3 separate regions of the Homo sapiens genome follow, and regions 2 and 3 are each linked to region 1. Evidence: promoter capture Hi-C in 16 types of primary human blood cells and fetal thymus (Javierre and others, 2016). All regions are on one chromosome and are shown on one strand. Each heading gives the region's core, a stretch centred on a gene start or on the middle of the fragment in contact. The rest is flanking DNA. Distances are from core to core; before and after follow the strand shown.

What was found. The method cuts DNA at HindIII sites, captures the fragments that hold promoters and counts their contacts. A CHiCAGO score of 5 or more calls a contact.
Region 2: the fragment with the promoter of SLC61A1 here is called in contact with a fragment that was not itself captured in region 1 in 1 of 17 cell types (erythroblasts); the score reaches 5.2 in erythroblasts.
Region 3: the fragment with the promoter of IGFBP6 here is called in contact with a fragment that was not itself captured in region 1 in 2 of 17 cell types (total B cells and naive B cells); the score reaches 6.1 in total B cells.

What each region holds. Positions count from the first base shown.
Region 1 is chr12:53,514,714-53,517,743 of GRCh38, forward strand. It overlaps ATF7-NPFF (ATF7-NPFF readthrough), which reads right to left. Exons shown (of 15, transcript NR_159377.1): 12 at 2,302-2,641. ATF7 (activating transcription factor 7) reads right to left here. Exons shown (of 12, transcript NM_006856.3): 12 at 1-2,641. The coding sequence ends at 2,424. ATF7-AS1 (ATF7 antisense RNA 1) reads left to right here. Exons shown (of 3, transcript NR_046221.1): 3 at 796-2,895. Among named protein-coding and RNA genes, the nearest start is that of ATF7-AS1, 2.2 kb to the left of the region's middle. RefSeq lists a silencer at 1,168-1,409 and an enhancer at 2,376-2,875. The HindIII fragment of the contact is 300 bases long and covers 1,492-1,791 here.
Region 2 is chr12:53,250,762-53,253,764 of GRCh38, forward strand. SLC61A1 (solute carrier family 61 member 1) reads left to right here and starts at 1,334. Exons shown (of 2, transcript NM_032889.5): 1 at 1,334-1,507; 2 at 2,057-3,003. The coding sequence starts at 2,075. RefSeq lists enhancers at 997-1,046, 1,180-1,851 and silencers at 1,317-1,596, 1,607-1,656. The HindIII fragment of the contact is 5,764 bases long and covers 1-3,003 here.
Region 3 is chr12:53,096,150-53,099,122 of GRCh38, forward strand. IGFBP6 (insulin like growth factor binding protein 6) reads left to right here and starts at 1,518. Exons shown (of 4, transcript NM_002178.3): 1 at 1,518-1,902. The coding sequence starts at 1,569. RefSeq lists silencers at 1,826-1,905, 1,916-2,035. The HindIII fragment of the contact is 8,294 bases long and covers 1-2,973 here.

The DNA of each region.
Region 1 (3,030 bases), core at 392-2,891:
AAGAAATAAAAAAGACCCGCTACATAAATTAGCCACCCAACACAGGGACAGACTGGCAGGGCATGTATGCAGTTACAAATTAATTCTTAACTGTAAAAACACTTGACTGAAGGGGGAAGAAAAATAGTCAAGAGTCTTAGGAAAGCTCCTTAGGAGCCATAAACTCAGTCAAGCTTTAGGGCAAGGCTGCTACTGGGAAATCAAGACAATAAAAAAATGAAACAAAACTCTAAAGCAGGAGAAAATCCCAGGGAGCAGCCAGCTAAAGGGGAAGTCCTGAGCACAAGTTACGGCTGTGAATTTTTAAAGGCAAAAGTGAAGTCCCTGGATGTGGTAACCTGCGTCCTGACCATCTGCCATAACATTTGCTAGTCTGAATCACTTCAGGGCCTATTCCTGTTGGGTACCTGATGGTAGAGGATGAGAAAACCGTGTTTTCTCTCCTTTGTCTTTAGGGGTGTGGCCTGTTCAGCACCAGCTCTGAAAAGCAGGAGGGGAAATTTAAAACAAATGCAGCAGAACCTGTTACCTGACTGGTTCACTAGGACAGGATATCACTTTAAGGAAACGGGAATCTTGTAGCTTAGAACATTTTCTCATTCCCCTGTGACAGTCAATTTTGGAGACAAAATAAGAAAGGAAGCTGGCAGTTATTTTGTATGTATGTTTAAGATGGAGGTAGGAAAGATGGAGAGAAGGACATTCTTGGCTTGCACAGATGGCAGAAAGTGGCTCTGGGACAACTGGAAGGGTTTCATACGGAAAGGCAATTAAAGCTGACCTATCTATCCACAGGCCTCTGGCTCTGAATTGCTTCCTATGGTCCTGGTAGAAACTGCATAGTTCAGAGCCAAGGGGAGATGAGAAGCCTTAACGTGGAAGAGGGACAAGAGAGATGAATTGCTCCCTCTGCAACCCAACTCTTCAAAGTAAGAATGGTTGAGAGCAATAGTCACCAATTTCCCAGGCCAGAACCTGGGGTCCTTTGCTGGGACCAGTTCTGCACTTTCCCTCTCCTCTTCCTCCCTCCTTTCAATCTTATACTCAAGTAAACCCACTCAGCATCTTGGCTATGACGCTTCAAGATCCTGGAGCACTGCATGTAAAGAGAAGAGAGAAGAAATGGGTTGAAGAAACTCTGGAGGACCTGGAAGACCTAGTGGCTAAGCTAGGAACCTGGTGAAAGAGAAAGAAGATAGTCCAGACGGTGATGGGCACTTGTGAACAGAAGACTCTAGCTCAGAAAAGCAGACAGATGTGTGAGGGGGAGAGATGGGGTAGAACAAAGGAACTCGAGAGTCCCCTACATGACAGCCTCCAGGAGGGCTGAGTCTGAAGTAGTTACAGAAGAGAGACAGGGGCGGTAATGTTGATAGGGGAATGAAGAGAGAGAAGCAGGAGCAGAAAAATGACCAAAGATGACAATATGCTTTGGCCGGTAAACTCTTATAAAACATAAAGGAATCGATTAATCCCTAACTTGATGGAACAAGCTTTGAAATACTTTGTTCCTGTCTGCCCTGATGGTTAAACTAAAGAAGGAGGGAGGGGAGGAGACAGAATCAGCCAGTCAGATTCTGGGCCCTTCCCTTTTCACTACCAAGCAATCTTTAATAATAAGGCCACAAAATGAGGTTGCCAAGGCTTAGTGGGGTGGTGGGAAAGACCCCACCACTACACTAAAGTCAAGGGACAAAATGAGGTACCCAAATAGCTCTGCAAATAGATGAAAAAGAATTAGAACTCTTGAGGGTTTCTTTCTTTTTGGTGGCAGGTAGAGAGAAGGAATAAAGCTTATGGAAAAACTGGAAAATACTGCTACTTCATACATCAAAGGTAACCTTACATTCTCCGTAAGTGAATGTTTTAACTAGAATTAAGGAAGAGGAAAAAGGAAACGGGTAAATAAGCAGCTATGGGAGACCTGAGTCCTGAGTCCATGGGGTGGCTGGGGCTGGGTCAGCGGGTAATATGTCATCAAATCTAGCCTCCCTCTATCTGGCAGGAAGTGGCATGCTGGTAAGGAACAAAAAGGTAACAGCCACGGCTTAGTGGGAAGAGAGGGAACTGAGAAACCCCAAACCTAGAAGTGCCAAGGGTTAGTGTTAAAAGAGACAGATACACGTGCATGGGGCAGGGGTGATTGTTCGGACCATCTGGAAAGGCCTTTGGCTGTGGATGCATCAGAAACCCCACCCTGGGGGATGATCTATGAGGCTCCGGGGCTGGGAGGCCCCCAGCACAGGTGTCAAACGTACATGACCACATGGCTAAAAAGCCCCATATCTGTCCATTACTCACAACACACAATTCCCCCCACCCATATTGCCATGTCCAAGGCAGATGGGAGGGGATAAGATGACATCTCTCTTGGCTCTTGGGCGGGCGAGCTCTGGCTGAGGACCTCTCCACCAGAGGAGGCATCATCTGCCCGCAGACTGGGACTGTGGGGTCATGATTACATGCGATTGTATCGGCATGCTCAGTTCTGTCCTTTGGCTGGCCATCTGAGTGAGGACCGAGGTGGCCACAGCTTCAGCTGCAGAGCGAACACTGAGGCCATTGCTAGGGGCTGTTGCTGAGCTGTGCTGAATCACAGGGGCTGGAGAACCCGTTGGCTCTGAGCTTTCCTTGGGGCTTTCTGCCAGGAAGGAGGGCAAAGAGCAGAGAGCAATTGGTTAGAAAACAGAATGGGGAAAGAGGCAGGACTACCTTTTGCCATAATTCTAAAGGAGCCCAAAAGGGAAATGAAACCCATCTTTTTTTTGGGGAAAACTTCCCAGAATCCTGGCTTCTAAGTCATAAATGGGCTAGGAAATGGGAAGTTGTAAGAAGGGAAGAACTAGGCCAAAATTAACCTATCTATTCCAATAAAATGAATCTCCAACATGTTAATTACACTGTCTGGTTTCTAGGTCTTTGCATAGTTCATTACCAACTCTTATTATTATTCATTACTTCTATTCTTTCTTGTTTTTAAGAGATAGGGTCTCAAGTGATCCTCCTGCCTTGGCCTCTCAAAGTGCTGGG
Region 2 (3,003 bases), core at 84-2,583, 260 kb before region 1:
AGATTACTGTGCTGGAGGTGGTGGTGTTGCTATTTTAAACAGGAGGGCCATGGAAGGCCCCTCTGATCAGGTGACATTTTTTAAAATTTTATTTTATTTTTTATTTTTTTGTGAGACAGAGTCTCGCTCTGTCACCCAGACTGGAGTGCAGTGGCGTGATCTTGGCTCACTGCAACCTCTGCCTCCCTGGTTCAAGCGATTCTCCTGCCTCAGCCTCCCGAGTAGGTGGGATTACAGGTGCCCACCACCATGCCTGGCTAATTTTTATATTTTTTTACTAGCGACGGGGTTTCACCATGTTGGCCAGGCTGATCTTGAACTCCTGACCTCAACTGATCGGCCTGCCTCAGCCTCCTAAACTGCTGGGATTACAGGAATGAGCCACCAGGCCCAGCCAAGATCAGGTGACATTTGAACAGAGAACTGGAGGAGGTGGGGGGGGGAACCACGTGGATATCTTGGAGAAGAACTGTACAGGGAACAGTGTGCAAAAGCCCTGGTGGTAGCCAACATAGATGGGAGGGAGAGGAGCAGGGGATGAAGTCAGAGGAGTGGCAGAGGGTCAGAGGACAGAGGGTCTTGTAGGCCATTATAAATACTTCGGCTTTTACCCTTAGTGAGATGGGAAGTCATTGGAGGCTCTTGAGGAGATGATACGGAAGCTGTAGAGAGGTTAAATAGTTTTTCCAAGGTAAAACAGCTTGTAAGTGGCAGAAGGTAGGGAATTAAGCTCCAAGGCTGAAGTTCTTAACCCCATGCTGCCACTGAACTTTAGCCTTCTTTATTTGGGCATTGCTATCCTGTGACTTCAAAGAAACTGGGACACTGGGAAGTTATGCGGCTTGCCCAAGGCCACACAGCTGGTAAGTGACAGGGGCAGGACTGCGCCTTAGTCTGTCTGCAGCCCGACTCCAAGTTCTTTACACCACACCGCCTCCCTCAGGTGTCTGGACCATACTGGCTTCTCTTGCATGGAGGTCACTGCAGTGGGAGAGGAGGCAAACCAAGGAGACCTTCTCGGCTTCGGGCAGCGGTGCTGTTCCTTAGGAAGCTCCAACCCTTGGCTCTACCGGACTGCGGGCATCTTTCCCGAGCACTGCACGGAAGAAAAGAAAATTGGCACTTATTTCAGGGTGGCCCCTCAGGCATCCAAGAGCCAGAGGAGCAGGTGTCACGGGATGGCAGCGAGCGAGGCCAGGCCAGGAGAAGCAACCGCAGCCTCCTATGGTCGCCCCTTCCCGACCCACCCCAGGCGTCAGGAGTTCCGCGCCCGGGTAAGGGAAGGAGGGCGGGCGGGCGGGGCGGGGCGGGGTTTTGGCGCCGCGCCCCCGTCACGTGATGAAGCCATCATGGCGGCGGCCAGAGGCCTGCCCGGCTCCCGGAAGCAGGCTGTGAGGGGCGGGAGCGCTGCTGGAACCCGAGCCGGAGCCGGAGCCACAGCGGGGAGGGTGGCCTGGCGGCCTGGAGCCGGACGTGTCCGGGGCGTCCCCGCAGACCGGGGCAGCAGGTGAGGCGGAGTCTGGGCGAGGTGCAAGTGGATGTGGCAGGGCTGGGCAGGGGCTAGGGGGCGCAGTGGGGTGCCAGTGACCTGGAGGAGTGGGCCTCTGAGATGCACACGCATGACCCTGAAGCAACTCGAGAGGCCTGCGCGGGTGGGAGGGATGCCCGGGACAGAGGATGAGACACTGAGGGCAAAAAGAGGCTCCGCAGCGAGGACGGGAGGTAATAGAAGGAAGTGTACGGGAGCTGCTGTGGGAAAGGGCAGTAGAATTTGCGGGAGCGGGATTATTGAAAGGGACTCCCTCTTCACAGGCAAGGATGGGTTGAGTGCCCAGTCCTCTCCCCTGTCTTCTTACCCCTCCCTGCCCCACAGTGTCCTAGGAGACAGCTTTGGCGTGGCCACTCCTCCCACCCACCCAACTGGTCCCTCCGGTCTGAGATCTTGGGGAGTGGAGTTGGCAGCGGGGTTGGGTGGAGCTGCCATCTGCTTAAGACAGCCCCTTGACCGTGCTGCCCGAAGGATGGATATGGCTCTGACTCCCACCTCTCTTCCCAGGTCGTCCGGGGGCCCACCATGCTGGTGACTGCCTACCTTGCTTTTGTAGGCCTCCTGGCCTCCTGCCTGGGGCTGGAACTGTCAAGATGCCGGGCTAAACCCCCTGGAAGGGCCTGCAGCAATCCCTCCTTCCTTCGGTTTCAACTGGACTTCTATCAGGTCTACTTCCTGGCCCTGGCAGCTGATTGGCTTCAGGCCCCCTACCTCTATAAACTCTACCAGCATTACTACTTCCTGGAAGGTCAAATTGCCATCCTCTATGTCTGTGGCCTTGCCTCTACAGTCCTCTTTGGCCTAGTGGCCTCCTCCCTTGTGGATTGGCTGGGTCGCAAGAATTCTTGTGTCCTCTTCTCCCTGACTTACTCACTATGCTGCTTAACCAAACTCTCTCAAGACTACTTTGTGCTGCTAGTGGGGCGAGCACTTGGTGGGCTGTCCACAGCCCTGCTCTTCTCAGCCTTCGAGGCCTGGTATATCCATGAGCACGTGGAACGGCATGACTTCCCTGCTGAGTGGATCCCAGCTACCTTTGCTCGAGCTGCCTTCTGGAACCATGTGCTGGCTGTAGTGGCAGGTGTGGCAGCTGAGGCTGTAGCCAGCTGGATAGGGCTGGGGCCTGTAGCGCCCTTTGTGGCTGCCATCCCTCTCCTGGCTCTGGCAGGGGCCTTGGCCCTTCGAAACTGGGGGGAGAACTATGACCGGCAGCGTGCCTTCTCAAGGACCTGTGCTGGAGGCCTGCGCTGCCTCCTGTCGGACCGCCGCGTGCTGCTGTTGGGCACCATACAAGCTCTATTTGAGAGTGTCATCTTCATCTTTGTCTTCCTCTGGACACCTGTGCTGGACCCACACGGGGCCCCTCTGGGCATTATCTTCTCCAGCTTCATGGCAGCCAGCCTGCTTGGCTCTTCCCTGTACCGTATCGCCACCTCCAAGAGGTACCACCTTCA
Region 3 (2,973 bases), core at 268-2,767, 420 kb before region 1:
TTTTGCCCTTCCTCTCCTCTGCCCTGGTCTACTTCTCCCATCAGCAGTAGCTTCTCCCATCAGCTGCCCCACAACCCTCTCCTCCCTGCCTCTCCAGTCTGCATCAGTATCTCAGGGAAACAGGAAAACACCATTCTCCAAACACATGTCCTAGGGTCCCAGGGTTGCATGGCGAAGCGGGCTGTGCTGACAATGAGGTTCGTATTATTTCTATTTACCTAAAAGTTCAAGAAGGCCTTGCTGACATTGTTGCTTGGGGCCCAGCATTTAAACTTAGTCACTGCCCAGAGCCCTTGTTTTAGGAAAGAATGAGATGGTCCCTGTTGCATAACCCAGAGTTGGGTGGGTGTGGGTTGCCGAAGGAAACAATCCCTCTTCCTCTCTCTTGTGAGGCCTGGCTAGGAGTGCCTGGGATGGGCGGGACACTGCCTGGGGAAGGCGGGTGGGGAGCGGTGGAACCCGACCCTTGGAGCGAAGGCGGACAAGTAGGTAGGCAAAGATGCTGAGTAGTCCCTCCCCAAAGTCCCCTGGGCACAAGACAGTCTGATGAATCTAGAAAACCCCATGGATGACTGGGAGGGAAGGAAACGGATTCTGGGAGAGGAGAGGAATGGAGGAGCGAGCTTACCTGAAGGACGGGGATGGGGAGGGGGGTGGGGTCTGCTCTCTGGCCACTGTCCCCAAGAGCATCCCGAATACGAGTTCCTTTAATTCTCTCCCTCTCTAGTTTCAACCTGCCAATTTCCCCCTTTCCCTGCCTCCCAGCCAGTTCTCACCCTGCACACAGCCCTCTCCAATCCTTCCAGACTCCGCATGCGCCCACCACAATGCTAGGGTCTCCTACGGTTCATTCAAGTTGTATCCCTCCCTGCCTCCCGGCCCTTCCCCCATTGGCTTACCCCAGTCTGGTTCCCCTCGGGCCCCTTTTCTCCATAGTCTTACCTCAAGGGTGCTTTCTCTTACTCCTTTCCCAATTTTGCCCTTCCTCTCCTCTGCCCTGTTCTACTTCTCCCATCAGCAGTAGAATTTCCCAAGACCCCGTTATCCACCCTCTCCATCTTTTCTCTGTCCCTCCACATTTGCCCACTCCTCTTGTGATCCACACACACCATCTCTTCTCAGTTCCCTTTCAGCCCCCGTCTTCTCACTCCCCACCGGGTCCCTGCATGCCCCTCGTCGTCCTACACATACACACTAAGTGGATTGCACTCCCGTCCTCCCCTTCTTCCGCTCCTCCCCACCCTCCAGTCCCTCCAGCCAGCTGTACAGCTCCCAAATTCCGGGCCGAGATTCCCGGGAACAAAGCAAGAAAAATCAGAGCAATTTGGGAAGTAAACAGAAACTGGAAAGGGAGAGGGAAAGAAGAGTGGGGAGGACCCAGGTTGGGGGGGCCCTCTCCAGTCCCACCCAGTTTAGGGAATGCCCCTGCCCTCTCCCCCACCCCCCTTCACCTGGCTCTTAAAGGGCCCGGCCCCTGGCCGGCGGCTACTTAAGACAGAGGGGCGGCGGCGGGCAGCAGCTGCGCTGCGACTGCTCTGGAAGGAGAGGACGGGGCACAAACCCTGACCATGACCCCCCACAGGCTGCTGCCACCGCTGCTGCTGCTGCTAGCTCTGCTGCTCGCTGCCAGCCCAGGAGGCGCCTTGGCGCGGTGCCCAGGCTGCGGGCAAGGGGTGCAGGCGGGTTGTCCAGGGGGCTGCGTGGAGGAGGAGGATGGGGGGTCGCCAGCCGAGGGCTGCGCGGAAGCTGAGGGCTGTCTCAGGAGGGAGGGGCAGGAGTGCGGGGTCTACACCCCTAACTGCGCCCCAGGACTGCAGTGCCATCCGCCCAAGGACGACGAGGCGCCTTTGCGGGCGCTGCTGCTCGGCCGAGGCCGCTGCCTTCCGGCCCGCGCGCCTGCTGGTGAGTCCGCGCCCCGCCCCTGCCCCGCCCACGTGAGACCCGCGTCCTCCAGGCAGGGTCCTGGGGAGACGGGAGTGGGTGGCCCGGCAAGCCTTTCCGCCCTGGCCCTTGACGCTTCCGACTTTGGGGGGCACATTTGTGTGGGGGAGAAGGGGCAAGTGCAGGAAGCTGAGGTGCAGCCAGGGGACCTGGTGATACAGCAGAAGGTGTCTGCGCTCTCGGCCTTCTTTTTTGCTCCATTTATTTTCCCTTGATGGAGTGTGCGTGCAGGTGGGAACTTGGGGGAGGCAGGGGGAGAAATGGGAGGGTTTTAGGGCCATCCCATGGGCTCCAGCAGGCCCAGCTCCTACAACCCTAGACGGCCAAGCTGGGGAAAGGACCCAAATGTTGTTCTCAGCTTCCACTTGGAGAAAAGGGGAGGGGAACCCCAGACTCTGAAATTCTGCACACACTGAGAAATGACTCCTTTCCTCCTAATACCGGTGTTCGAAGCACCTAAACAGGAGGCGTCTAGAACCGAAGAGGCCCCAAATCCAGGGTTGTATTAGACTTGAGTAGGGACTGAGGGCAGGCTAGGGCGTAGGTTAGGGGAGAGGGGAGAAAGAGTAGGGGAAAGAGGGAATCTGCCAAATCAGGGTTATGATTTAAACCTGCTCAGAATCGTTCACCCATCCTACCCCACCCTGCTCCAGGGAGGAGAGCAGAAGCTGAGTCACTGGGTGGGTGGGACAGAAGTGAATCAGCCGTGAAAACATGGGGGGCAGCGGGGAGATGGGGAGGGCAGGAAATGCAAACTGCGCATCCCAGAGGCTCTGGGTTCCTTCCACGGGAGGGGATGGAGAATTCACTTGGAGTTTCTTTCAGTTCCAAATGCCCGAGTGCAGGCTTCTGGGCGTCCTCCTAAAAGGTGGTCTGGGTGGATGAGAGGAGGCAGTTTGGAACTAAATGGTTGGGTGCTAAATGTAGGGAATGAAGGAGAAGGTCTGGGGAGGGGTGGGCATCCTGAGGAAGAAGGATCAGACTCAGGATTGCAGGGGAAATGTCTCCTGGGTTGTGAGTGGTAGTTAGCTG